Linked DNA regions of Homo sapiens: region 2 is linked to region 1. The links are contacts of gene promoters, found by promoter capture Hi-C in blood cells and fetal thymus (Javierre and others, 2016). All regions are on one chromosome and are shown on one strand. Each heading gives the region's core, a stretch centred on a gene start or on the middle of the fragment in contact. The rest is flanking DNA. Distances are from core to core; before and after follow the strand shown. Region 1 holds the start of PCDHB11 (protocadherin beta 11). Region 2 overlaps PCDHGA1 (protocadherin gamma subfamily A, 1).

What was found. The method cuts DNA at HindIII sites, captures the fragments that hold promoters and counts their contacts. A CHiCAGO score of 5 or more calls a contact.
Region 2: a contact is called between a fragment that was not itself captured here and the fragment with the promoter of PCDHB11 in region 1, in 1 of 17 cell types (endothelial precursors). The highest score is 5.2, in endothelial precursors.

What each region holds. Positions count from the first base shown.
Region 1 is chr5:141,197,057-141,202,245 of GRCh38, forward strand. It overlaps PCDHB11 (protocadherin beta 11), which reads left to right and starts at 2,571. Exons shown (of 1, transcript NM_018931.3): 1 at 2,571-5,189. The coding sequence starts at 2,719. The coding sequence ends at 5,112. It also overlaps PCDHB@. The HindIII fragment of the contact is 6,869 bases long and covers 909-5,189 here.
Region 2 is chr5:141,376,653-141,381,841 of GRCh38, forward strand. The region is part of intron 1 of PCDHGA1 (protocadherin gamma subfamily A, 1); the gene reads left to right. All of the region lies in intron 1 of PCDHGA2 (protocadherin gamma subfamily A, 2), which reads left to right. The region is part of intron 1 of PCDHGA3 (protocadherin gamma subfamily A, 3); the gene reads left to right. The region is part of intron 1 of PCDHGB1 (protocadherin gamma subfamily B, 1); the gene reads left to right. It also overlaps PCDHGA4, PCDHGB2, PCDHGA5, PCDHGB3, PCDHGA6 and PCDHG@. Among named protein-coding and RNA genes, the nearest start is that of PCDHGA7, 3.5 kb to the right of the region's middle. The HindIII fragment of the contact is 3,193 bases long and covers 1,340-4,532 here.

The sequences.
Region 1 (5,189 bases), core at 1,321-3,820:
TCTTGGTTTTTCATAACATCCTATTACAAATTTGCAAATGTAAATCTTCTTTCATCTATAATTAATCTATTTATTCTTTAAAAATGCATTATATAGTAAGAGTTATTATTATACCTATTTTAAACTTGCAAGTGAATCAAAGGGAAGTTAAGAATTTGCCTAAGGCTATATAGCTAGTAAGGGGCACTTAAGCCCTAAGCTATTCTTTGTCTTCCAGGTATAAATACGTACTTGATAGGGTTACTGTTAACATCAACTAGGTAAATCCATATGAGGCACTAGAATAATGAACTTAGAATAAGTCAATAAGTGTTAGCTCTTATTACATTTTGTTTCTCTGGGGATACTAATCAGACATTTTAAAAGGCTTTCTTTTGTTTTCTGAATTATATCTATTCCCTCCTGTTGCTTTTTGTGCTTGGCGGTAGTATTACAGTTTTGGCTTTTCTATTTCATGTTGTAGGCATTTTCTCAAATGTCTTGTTATCTTTGACTGTCTTATTATATATATGAATGGTGACACAGCAAATGCTGACAGTCAACACTTCATGAGTATTGATGACAGGGCTTCACTCTAATGTAACCATGCTAGGATAGAGCTACTACCTTGGGAAACCCCCACATATCAGTACATGTAAGTCTTTATCTGCGCCTTTCATATTCCCCAGGATAGAATTCTACAATATTCAATGTTTTGGGTGCGATGGGGAAGATGTCAGGCATATATCTTGTGTCCTACAATCTGAGAGTATCATGGCTAGGAGTCTCACAATACAGAAGGCAGTGTTTTGCCTAATCTCCCTATCTTTAGTTTCATACCTCCTACTTTCACTCAGCTCTGCCTGGGGTTTCCAAGACTGGAGATAGTATAATTTCTCCAGAATATAATCTAATTTCTCCAGAGTATAAGCTTTCCATTCTCTGGCTCTCAGTTATTTTCTTGTCTCTGTATGATGGTGAAAAGACCAGAGAATTCAACTATCCTACATACATACTTTCAACTAATAACTTCTTTTTTAAGCCCTTACTTGACTTCAGCCTTCTTATACACCTGGTTCCTCCAAGTCTGGTACCTACTAGGATTGTGTAGGGAAAACCCAGTAGTTTATTTTTAGTATCTCCAATGAAGGAACTTTATTTTAGACATTTCTTGGAACTATTGTCAATTGCTCTTTCATCTGCTTTCTATCATCAAATAATTTGTGTATTTACTTATGTATTCTTAGTCTTTGTGAATTCATACCTTTTATTACTTTTCTGTCATTTTAGAGAGGGGTTAAGAAGAAGGAAGGATAATTGTATAGTCAATCCACATACTATTCAATTTCTACTCTTCTGCACTGATAATTTTTCAACCATGTATCTAGTTCACATTTTTGTGAATGTAATTTGAAATTAGAATTTTTAAAAGCAGACTTCTTAGATGTCCTCCATTATTGAGAGTACTTTGAGATGTCTAACAGTGGATACCATTGGTAGTTTCCAAGCACCTATTCCAACTATCTCCCTCATTATGCCATGCACTTTGGCTAGGACTGAAACCACCTCAAGTTTAAGGGGCAATCTCTGCCTGGATTAAAACAAAGGGTCAAAGATGGAGTCTTTAGATTCTGGGACTATAATCTCTACCTTTAATCCTATACATCTTGAGACACTGATTTCTTCAGTAACAGGCTGAAGTGCTCTCAGTTGGTCTAATCAGAATGAAGGCTAAGATTTTGTTCTATTATTGAGGAAGAAAATATCTCTCATTCTGTCTTCTTGAGCTGAAAAACAAAGCAGATAGCCATAGATGTTGCTGGAATAAATCTTGGGAAACTGAGGGAGGGCAGTCTTAGAAATAAGCCTGCTTTAAATGAAACTAACATGCTTGTGCTTGTGTATTTATTATTTTTTGAGAAGCTGGAACTAAATCAAGGATTCTCATAATGTGTTCTACTCCCAATATCTTACTTTACTTTCTAGCAGTTCACAATTCCTTGCTACCAAGGAAATCTATATAAATGCCTTCTTGTGCTATCATAACTATCAAAGTATGTCCCATCTCATGGTTAATCCAGTTTCATATCCTCTGAGAGGACTTCTAAAATGACCCATGTATAGTTTGCCTTTTCATTACCACCTAAGGAAAGTCAAGTAGTGATAGAATTTTGTACAGCTTAAAAATATTATGGTTGTTTTATGTTTCCAGTCTTCTCAGAAAGATTACAAACCACTGGGAGCCAGGAATCACATCTTGTATTTCTGTATTCACCACAACTAAGCACGTTTGGTTGTATGGAGAAGGGGGAAAGATAAATGCTTTAAGATGAATATTAACAGCATATCAAACTAAAGAGAATATGAAATAATTATTACAGAACGTGCAATATATTTGTAATCACTTGAACACAATGAATAAAACAATATTTGTTTCCGGAGGACATATAAGTGAATGGAATTTAGGTAGCTTTCACCAAACTGTGAAAATCTATGGAGACACTTGGTGGCGCTGCAGGATAACATCGTGAAAAATATATTCACTGGATGGCGTTGTGAACACTGATATCCAGTGCACACAGAGAATCAGAAGACAGAAACAACAAGCCTTCAAGAGGGTGACCTGGAAACCATTCAACAGGGTTAAAATCCTTAGACCACAGAGGATTTGGTGGACAAGTCAGAGACGCGTTCCGCAGAGCTGAAGCCTTTCTTCAAGAAGCCTACAAGAAAGGAACTATGGAGAACCAAGGGACACGCACTCAGCAGATAAGGCAAGTCCTGCTTCTCTTTGTTTTGCTCGGAATGTCTCAGGCGGGCTCTGAAACCTGGAGCTTTTCTGTGGCAGAAGAAATGCAGAGCGGGAGTTTTGTAGGCAATCTGGCAAAGGACCTGGGGCTGAAGGTGAGAGAACTGTCCTCACGGGGGGCTCGGGTGGTCTCTAATGATAAGAAACAGCGTTTGCAGCTGGACATAAACACTGGGGATTTGCTCTTAAGTGAAACACTAGACAGGGAGGAGCTCTGCGGTTCCATCGAGCCTTGCGTGCTACATTTGCAGGTGTTAATGCAAAACCCCACGCAGTTTTTACAAATTGAGCTTCAGGTCAGGGATATAAATGATCACTCTCCCATCTTCTCGGAAAAACAAATGCTCCTAGAAATCCCAGAGAACAGTCCCGTTGGTGCTGTGTTCTTACTAGAAAGTGCGAAGGATTTAGATGTAGGAATCAATGCTGTAAAAAGCTACACAATAAGCCCCAACTCTCATTTTCACATTAAAATGAGAGTCATTCCAGACAATAGGAAATACCCCGAGTTAGTTCTGGACAAGGCGCTGGATTATGAAGAGCTCCCGGAGCTCAGTTTCATCCTCTCTGCTCTGGATGGTGGGTCCCCTCCCAGGTCTGGAACTGCCTTGGTCAGGGTGGTGGTTGTGGACATTAATGACAACTCCCCTGAATTTGAGCAGGCTTTTTATGAGGTGAAGATTCGGGAGAATAGCATCCTTGGCTCGCTGATTTTGATTGTCTCAGCTTGGGATTTAGACTCTGGAACAAATGGTGAAATATGCTATACCTTTTCCCATGCCTCAGAAGATATTCGCAAGACATTTGAAATTAATCAAAAGTCTGGAGAAATTACTTTAAGAGCACCTCTGGATTTTGAAACGATTGAGTCATACTCAATAATCATTCAAGCCACAGATGGGGGAGGACTTTTTGGAAAATCTACAGTCATAATTCACGTGATAGATGTAAATGACAATGCTCCTGAAATCACTGTGTCATCAATTACCAGTCCAATCCCAGAAAATACGCCAGAGACCGTGGTTATGGTTTTTAGTATCCAAGATATAGACTCTGGGGACAACGGAAGAATTGTTTGTTCCATTCCGGAAGACCTCCCATTCGTGCTAAAATCTTCAGTTGAGAATTACTACACGTTGGAAACAGAGAGACCACTGGACAGAGAGAGCACAGCCGAGTACAATATCACCATCACCGTCACCGACTTGGGGATACCCAGGCTGAAAACCGAGCACAACACAACTGTGTTGGTCTCTGACGTCAATGACAACGCCCCCACCTTCACCCAAACCTCCTACACCCTGTTCGTCCGCGAGAACAACAGCCCCGCCCTGCACATCGGCAGTGTCAGCGCTACAGACAGAGACTCAGGCACCAACGCCCAGGTCAACTACTCGCTACTCCCGCCCCAGGACCTGCACCTGCCCCTCGCCTCCCTGGTCTCCATCAACACAGACAACGGCCACCTGTTCGCCCTCAGGTCGCTGGACTACGAGGCCCTGCAGGCTTTCGACTTCCGCGTGGGCGCCACAGACCGCGGCTCCCCGGCTTTGAGCAGCGAGGCGCTGGTGCGCGTGCTGGTGCTGGACGCCAACGACAACTCGCCCTTCGTGCTGTACCCGCTGCAGAACGGCTCCGCGCCCTGCACCGAGCTGGTGCCCCGGGCGGCCGAGCCGGGCTACCTGGTGACCAAGGTGGTGGCGGTGGACGGCGACTCGGGCCAGAACGCCTGGCTGTCGTACCAGCTGCTCAAGGCCACGGAGCCCGGGCTATTCGGCGTGTGGGCGCACAATGGCGAGGTGCGCACCGCCAGGCTGCTGAGCGAGCGCGACGCGGCCAAGCACAGGCTGGTGGTGCTGGTCAAGGACAATGGCGAGCCTCCGCGCTCGGCCACCGCCACGCTGCAAGTGCTCCTGGTGGACGGCTTCTCCCAGCCCTACCTGCCGCTCCCTGAGGCGGCACCGGCCCAGGCCCAGGCCGACTCGCTCACCGTCTACTTGGTGGTGGCGTTGGCCTCGGTGTCTTCGCTCTTCCTCTTCTCGGTGCTCCTGTTCGTGGCGGTGCGGCTGTGCAGGAGGAGCAGGGCGGCCTCGGTGGGAAGCTGCTCGGTGCCTAAGGGCCCCTTTCCAGGGCATCTGGTGGACGTGAGCGGCACCGGGACCCTTTCCCAGAGCTACCAGTACGAGGTGTGTCTGACGGGAGGTTCCGAGACAAATGAATTCAAGTTCCTAAAACCGGTTATCCCTAATATCCAGGCAAAAGGTCTTGGGAAGAATAGTGAAGAAAACTCCACCTTTCGAAATAGCTTTGGATTTAATTTTTAGTAAGAATGCTATTTACATTTGCATGTACTTTTTTAGTTTTATGTAACCATATCAATATTATTTAGTCTTAAACTAGT
Region 2 (5,189 bases), core at 1,686-4,185, 180 kb after region 1:
TCCCTTGTTCAGGTGAGGGTATCGTTTTTTTTTTTTTTTTTTTTTGAGACGGAGTCTCGCTCTGTCGCCCAGGCCGGACTGCGGACTGCAGTGGCGCAATCTCGGCTCACTGCAAGCTCCGCTTCCCGGGTTCACGCCATTCTCCTGCCTCAGCCTCCCTAGTAGCTGGGACTACAGGCGCCCGCCACCGCGCCCGGCTAATTTTTTTGTATTTTTAGTAGAGACGGGGTTTCACCTTGTTAGCCAGGATGGTCTCGATCTCCTGACCTCATGATCCACCCGCCTCGGCCTCCCAAAGTGCTGGGATTACAGGCGTGAGCCACCGCGCCCGGCCGAGGGTATCGTTTTTATTGGTTGACAGGAAAATTCAAGATTGTCTTTGATTAGTGCTTAGTTTTCTTAGCCCTTTGCAGAGAGTCACATAATTCTAATGTTTTTCTTTTATATCAAAAGAATGTTCTGAAGTCTTAATTTTGTGGGGGAAAATAATGCATGTCCTAGTTTTTCTTTACCTTTCTCTTCTTGGCAAACTATTTGTGTCTTGGATTGAGTACATCTCGTTTCTTAGGTTTTTTCCTACTATGTGACATTTGTAAGGTTCTTTCTTTTTCTAATGTGGGAAAAAAAATAACCTTAATTTAGGTCAGTGTTAAAGATCAAGATCTTGGTTTTAGCTAGCATGGTGGTTCACGCCTGTAATCCCACCTCTTCAGGAGGCTGAGGCAGGAGGATCCCTTGAGACCAGGAGTTTGAGACCAGCCTGGGTGACTCTGTCTCTACCAAAAAGAAAAAAAAGTAGCCAGATGTGTGGCGTACACCTGTAGTCCCAGCTACTCGAGAAGCTCTGATAGGAGGATTGCTTAAGTCCAGGGGTATGAGGCTGCAGTGAGATATAATTGTGTCACTGCACCCTAGCCTGGGAGACAGAATGAGACTTTTTCTCTCTCTCTCTCAAAAAAAAAAAAAGATTTTGTTTTTTCTCAGTGTTACTTGATAACTATAAACGACAGACGTTCATACAAGAGATCTTTCACCTTTACTACTTAGGAATCAAAAATTATTTTTGAAAAGATAAGAATCATTGGTAACTGCAGCAGGGGACACCAGATCTTTGGTGTTAAAAGACCTGAATAACATTCCTGTAACTATCTGTTATTTACTTGGGCCAGTTACAATCGCCATTATCTTCCAATTAAAATTAAGATTTAAAAGACTTCTCTTATCAGAGATAGGATCCCCCTCTGTTGCCCAGTCTGGAGTAAAAATCCACCTGTAACTGCTGCTTATAGAGTGTGTATCCAGGGCAACTTGAATCTATGTTCCTGGGTTGCAATCCTAAAGCTTGGCTCAAATAAGCTCTACTTATATTATTTTTTAAAACAAGACTTTCCTTATCTATCTGACTCAAATTCTAAGAAAATAATTTTATAACTTTTTTTCAAACTCTAAAGCAGCATAGTGAACACGTATTTGTTGACATCACCATTATTATAATTATTGGGTTGTTAACAATAACTAAGCACCGATGCTGTGTGCCTACTACAGTGTCTTTTGCATACTGTGTGCCTGATAGTATTTAAGAGTGAAAATGGCCGGGTGCGGTGGCTCATGCCTGTAATCCCAACACTTTGGGAGGCCAAGGCAGGCATCTCACGAAGTCAGGAGTTCGAGACCAGCCTGACCAACATGGTGAAACCCCGTCTCTACTAAAAATACAAAAATTAGCCAGGTGGGGTGGCATGGGCCTGTAATCGCAGCTACTCGGGAGGCTGAGGCAGGAGAATCGCTTGAACCCATGAGGCAGAGGTTGCAGTGAGCCAAGATCGTGCCACTGCACTCCAGTCTGGGTGACAGAGCGAGACTCTGTCTCAAAAAATAATAATGATAATTAATAAATAAAGAGTGAACATGAATTTTAAAACATGCTCGGTAGTGTCTGCTTACAGGACATATCTCTAAAAATAGATGACTGACTGGTGAATGGGAGAACAAATGTTAATGAGGTTCAAATAAAAATTTAAATATTTTAGCATTTTAACCCAGACAATAAGGCTTTCATCATATAGGAACTCTTTATTGAAATATTTCAAGAAAAAAGGGATTATCATTTAGAAGACTGATTAGTCTTATTTATTATGACTGAAATGTGCAAACAGAATCATTGTTTCATGAACAGAAAACAGCAGAGTTTTTGACTGTCAATGATGTTCGAATAGAAAATGGATCACTAAGGAGATAGGAGATTCTGTTATCGACAGTCTTCAAAAGTAAGTTGATGGCCCTGGAATGAATGGAGTACAGGGGATTCTCTAATTTGATGACTTGTTGAACTACATTATAGTCAAGATTTTTCTCCAGTCATGAGTTGGAAGATTCTACAATCTGGTGGTATTATAGAATGGATTGGCCACTTGTGCATCTGAATTTGTTATGAATGTGTAAGAAAAAAGCAATTGAGAAGATACCTTGAAAATAAATGAGAACCTCCTTTGTAACCTGACTTTGTCAGTCTTCTTAAAGATAACATTGAGTTGATGTGTTTTTAAATAAGCTGCTAAGAGTAATATGTGTTTTTCTGAACCAATATTGTGGTATTTACATTTAAGGAATTGTTATAGATTTATTTATTTCAAGTTTCCAAAGGTATATACCTAAACAAGAGATCTAATCATACACATCTTCAAAGCTCATTTTCTTGTATCTTTGTGATATAATTTGATAAAATAACAATTTTAAACAACTTGAATCTTGGATATTAGTCTCATGAGTTAGATGGGCTGTTATACATATGATTATTTCATAAACTCTGAAAGTGTGAATGTTATTTTACTATACTACCAATTTGGGATGTTAAACTACATCTTGAGCATTTGTTGTTATAGGGAAAGCTCACTAACTACTTTTCATGGAGATCAGGCTGGTTTATTTTATTCTCTTATTACCTGTGACCATTTCATTTAAACAAATAAAATATTTCTCTGATGGAAAAACTACCAACTTCTACTCTCACAAAAGTCATTCACTCATGTGGACTGACCAACTGTTAAACATCCTGGCAGTCATGGAATTTGCTAAGTTATGGCTAAATGAGGTTCTTTAATCCACCTGCAATACAGATCATTAATAATAAGATAGGCTATCTGAGGTTTTGAGAGTTCAGTATAGAATTTTGAAGCATCAGGAAAAAAAACTACCAAATTATTGTCTTATTCTTATTTTATGGTCTGTGAAAGCCTCTTTTTTTTTTTTTTTTTTTTTTTTTTTTTTGTCAGAGTCTTGCTCTGTCTCCCAGGCTGGAATGCAGTGGTGTGATCTCTGCTCACTGCAACTTCCTCCTCCTGGGTTCAAGCGATTCTCCTGCCTCAGCCTCCCAAGTAGCTGGGATTACAGGTGCATGCCACCATGCCTAGCTAATTTTCATACTTTTAGTAGAGATGGGGTTTTACCATGATGGCCAGGCTGGTCTCAAACTCCTGACCTTAAGTGATCCACCCGCCTCAGCCTCTCAAAGGGCTGGGATTACAGGCATGAGCCACTGAGCCCGGCCTGAAAGGCATTCATTTCTGATCAGGCTTCTGTTGAGGTGGCAATTGTCAAAGGGGAAGGAGTAAAATCTCAGAGGAGAAACATTGGAAGATACCTATATCTTTGCTTGAGAATGAAAATCTAAATGGAACTTCAAAGAACTGTTTTGTTGTTTGTTTTTTAGAAAAAAAAGTCCCAAAAAAGAAAAGAGAGAAGATAATCAATTCGATGCCCAGGAAGCCAAATAGACTTTACATAGAATTCTTTTTAATGCAACCAAACAAATGGTCAGGATTCTTCCCAATATCTCAGTCAACAATAATATACACTCTTTAAACTATGAAATGATTTCAATTTGATACAATGAGCTTATGTTAGATTTTATTAAACATATCTTGGCGGTCTAGTAAAGATCTTTAATATTTAATTTTATGATGTTCGATAACTTAGAAAATGTGAATGCTAGAGACAATGAAGCCATTTACTCCATAGGGTATGTATGCTTTGTGTTCGGAGTAGTCTATAATTTAATTTAACTAGCTCTTATTTCCTTTTCTCCAAAGAAGGTACCAAGACACTATAAATTAATTGAGACTTTTTTAAAACAGTAGAATAAGAAACAAATGTGAGATGAAACTATGAATTTTGAGGCATCAGGTAAAAATGGATCAAGACATTGAGAGCTATAACCTCCAAACATGAAAGTTTGTTTGAAAATATCTACAAGTGCTTACATTGTTTAATAATCATACACTTTGCTTGCCTCAACAAGAAGTTCAAAAGTACTATTAAACAAATAGAATTTAACTCCAGTTTACAGAATTCATCTATAATACCTCTATTAGTTCCTTTAAACAAAATTTATCTACTTTGTGAATGCAAAGATAACTATGGATTATTTTGATAGATCAAAACAGAATGTCCTTCAAAGTGTTCCCTGTATTCTGGAGCAATGCCACCAGAAAGCAGAAATAGGTTACTTAGGAGCCTCCCACAAAACGAAGTTAAGCTTTCTTAGTGTTAGTTCTGGATTCTCCTCCTGGTTCCACCAACTACTCTCCAGGACCTAGAAGAATTTACAAACCAAGACTGTTTCTTGCCAGGTCTTTATTCCAGAGCAGGTCATTCTCTTTTATTCTGCAACTATGTGAAAGGAGCTTTCTTTTCTTTCTGCTAGCAGAGGGTAGCCTCGGATCCATCAATAATTTAGTTTTACTCTATCAACATCAGTGGAGAGACGAGTACCTCTAAGGATCCTGTCAGGACAGTCCTGCATTTTGCTCAAATGCTGTCTAGAGATCCCTGTTTTCTCAATTACACTAGAATAGAGTAGGATGAAGATTTGAATTGCATACTAGGATGAAGACTTGAATTGAATTGCATAATGAAAAGAATCAGCCAATCCATTATCCAGTTTCTTATGAATTCACAGCCCAGTAGGATCTCTGCAGATTTCTGCCTTCTGTAGAAAATGGGTTGCTTCTATAGCTGATTGCTGCAGCCAAGACAAACAACGATTTCTTTCTTTTTTTCTCACAAGACTGGGAGTGAGAATATTTGGATTCCGACATTGTTCTACTACTATATAATCAATAATCAGGAACAAGGCAAGGCAATTCCCTCTTTCTTTCTTTCTTTCTTTCTTCTTCTTTTTTTTTTTTTTT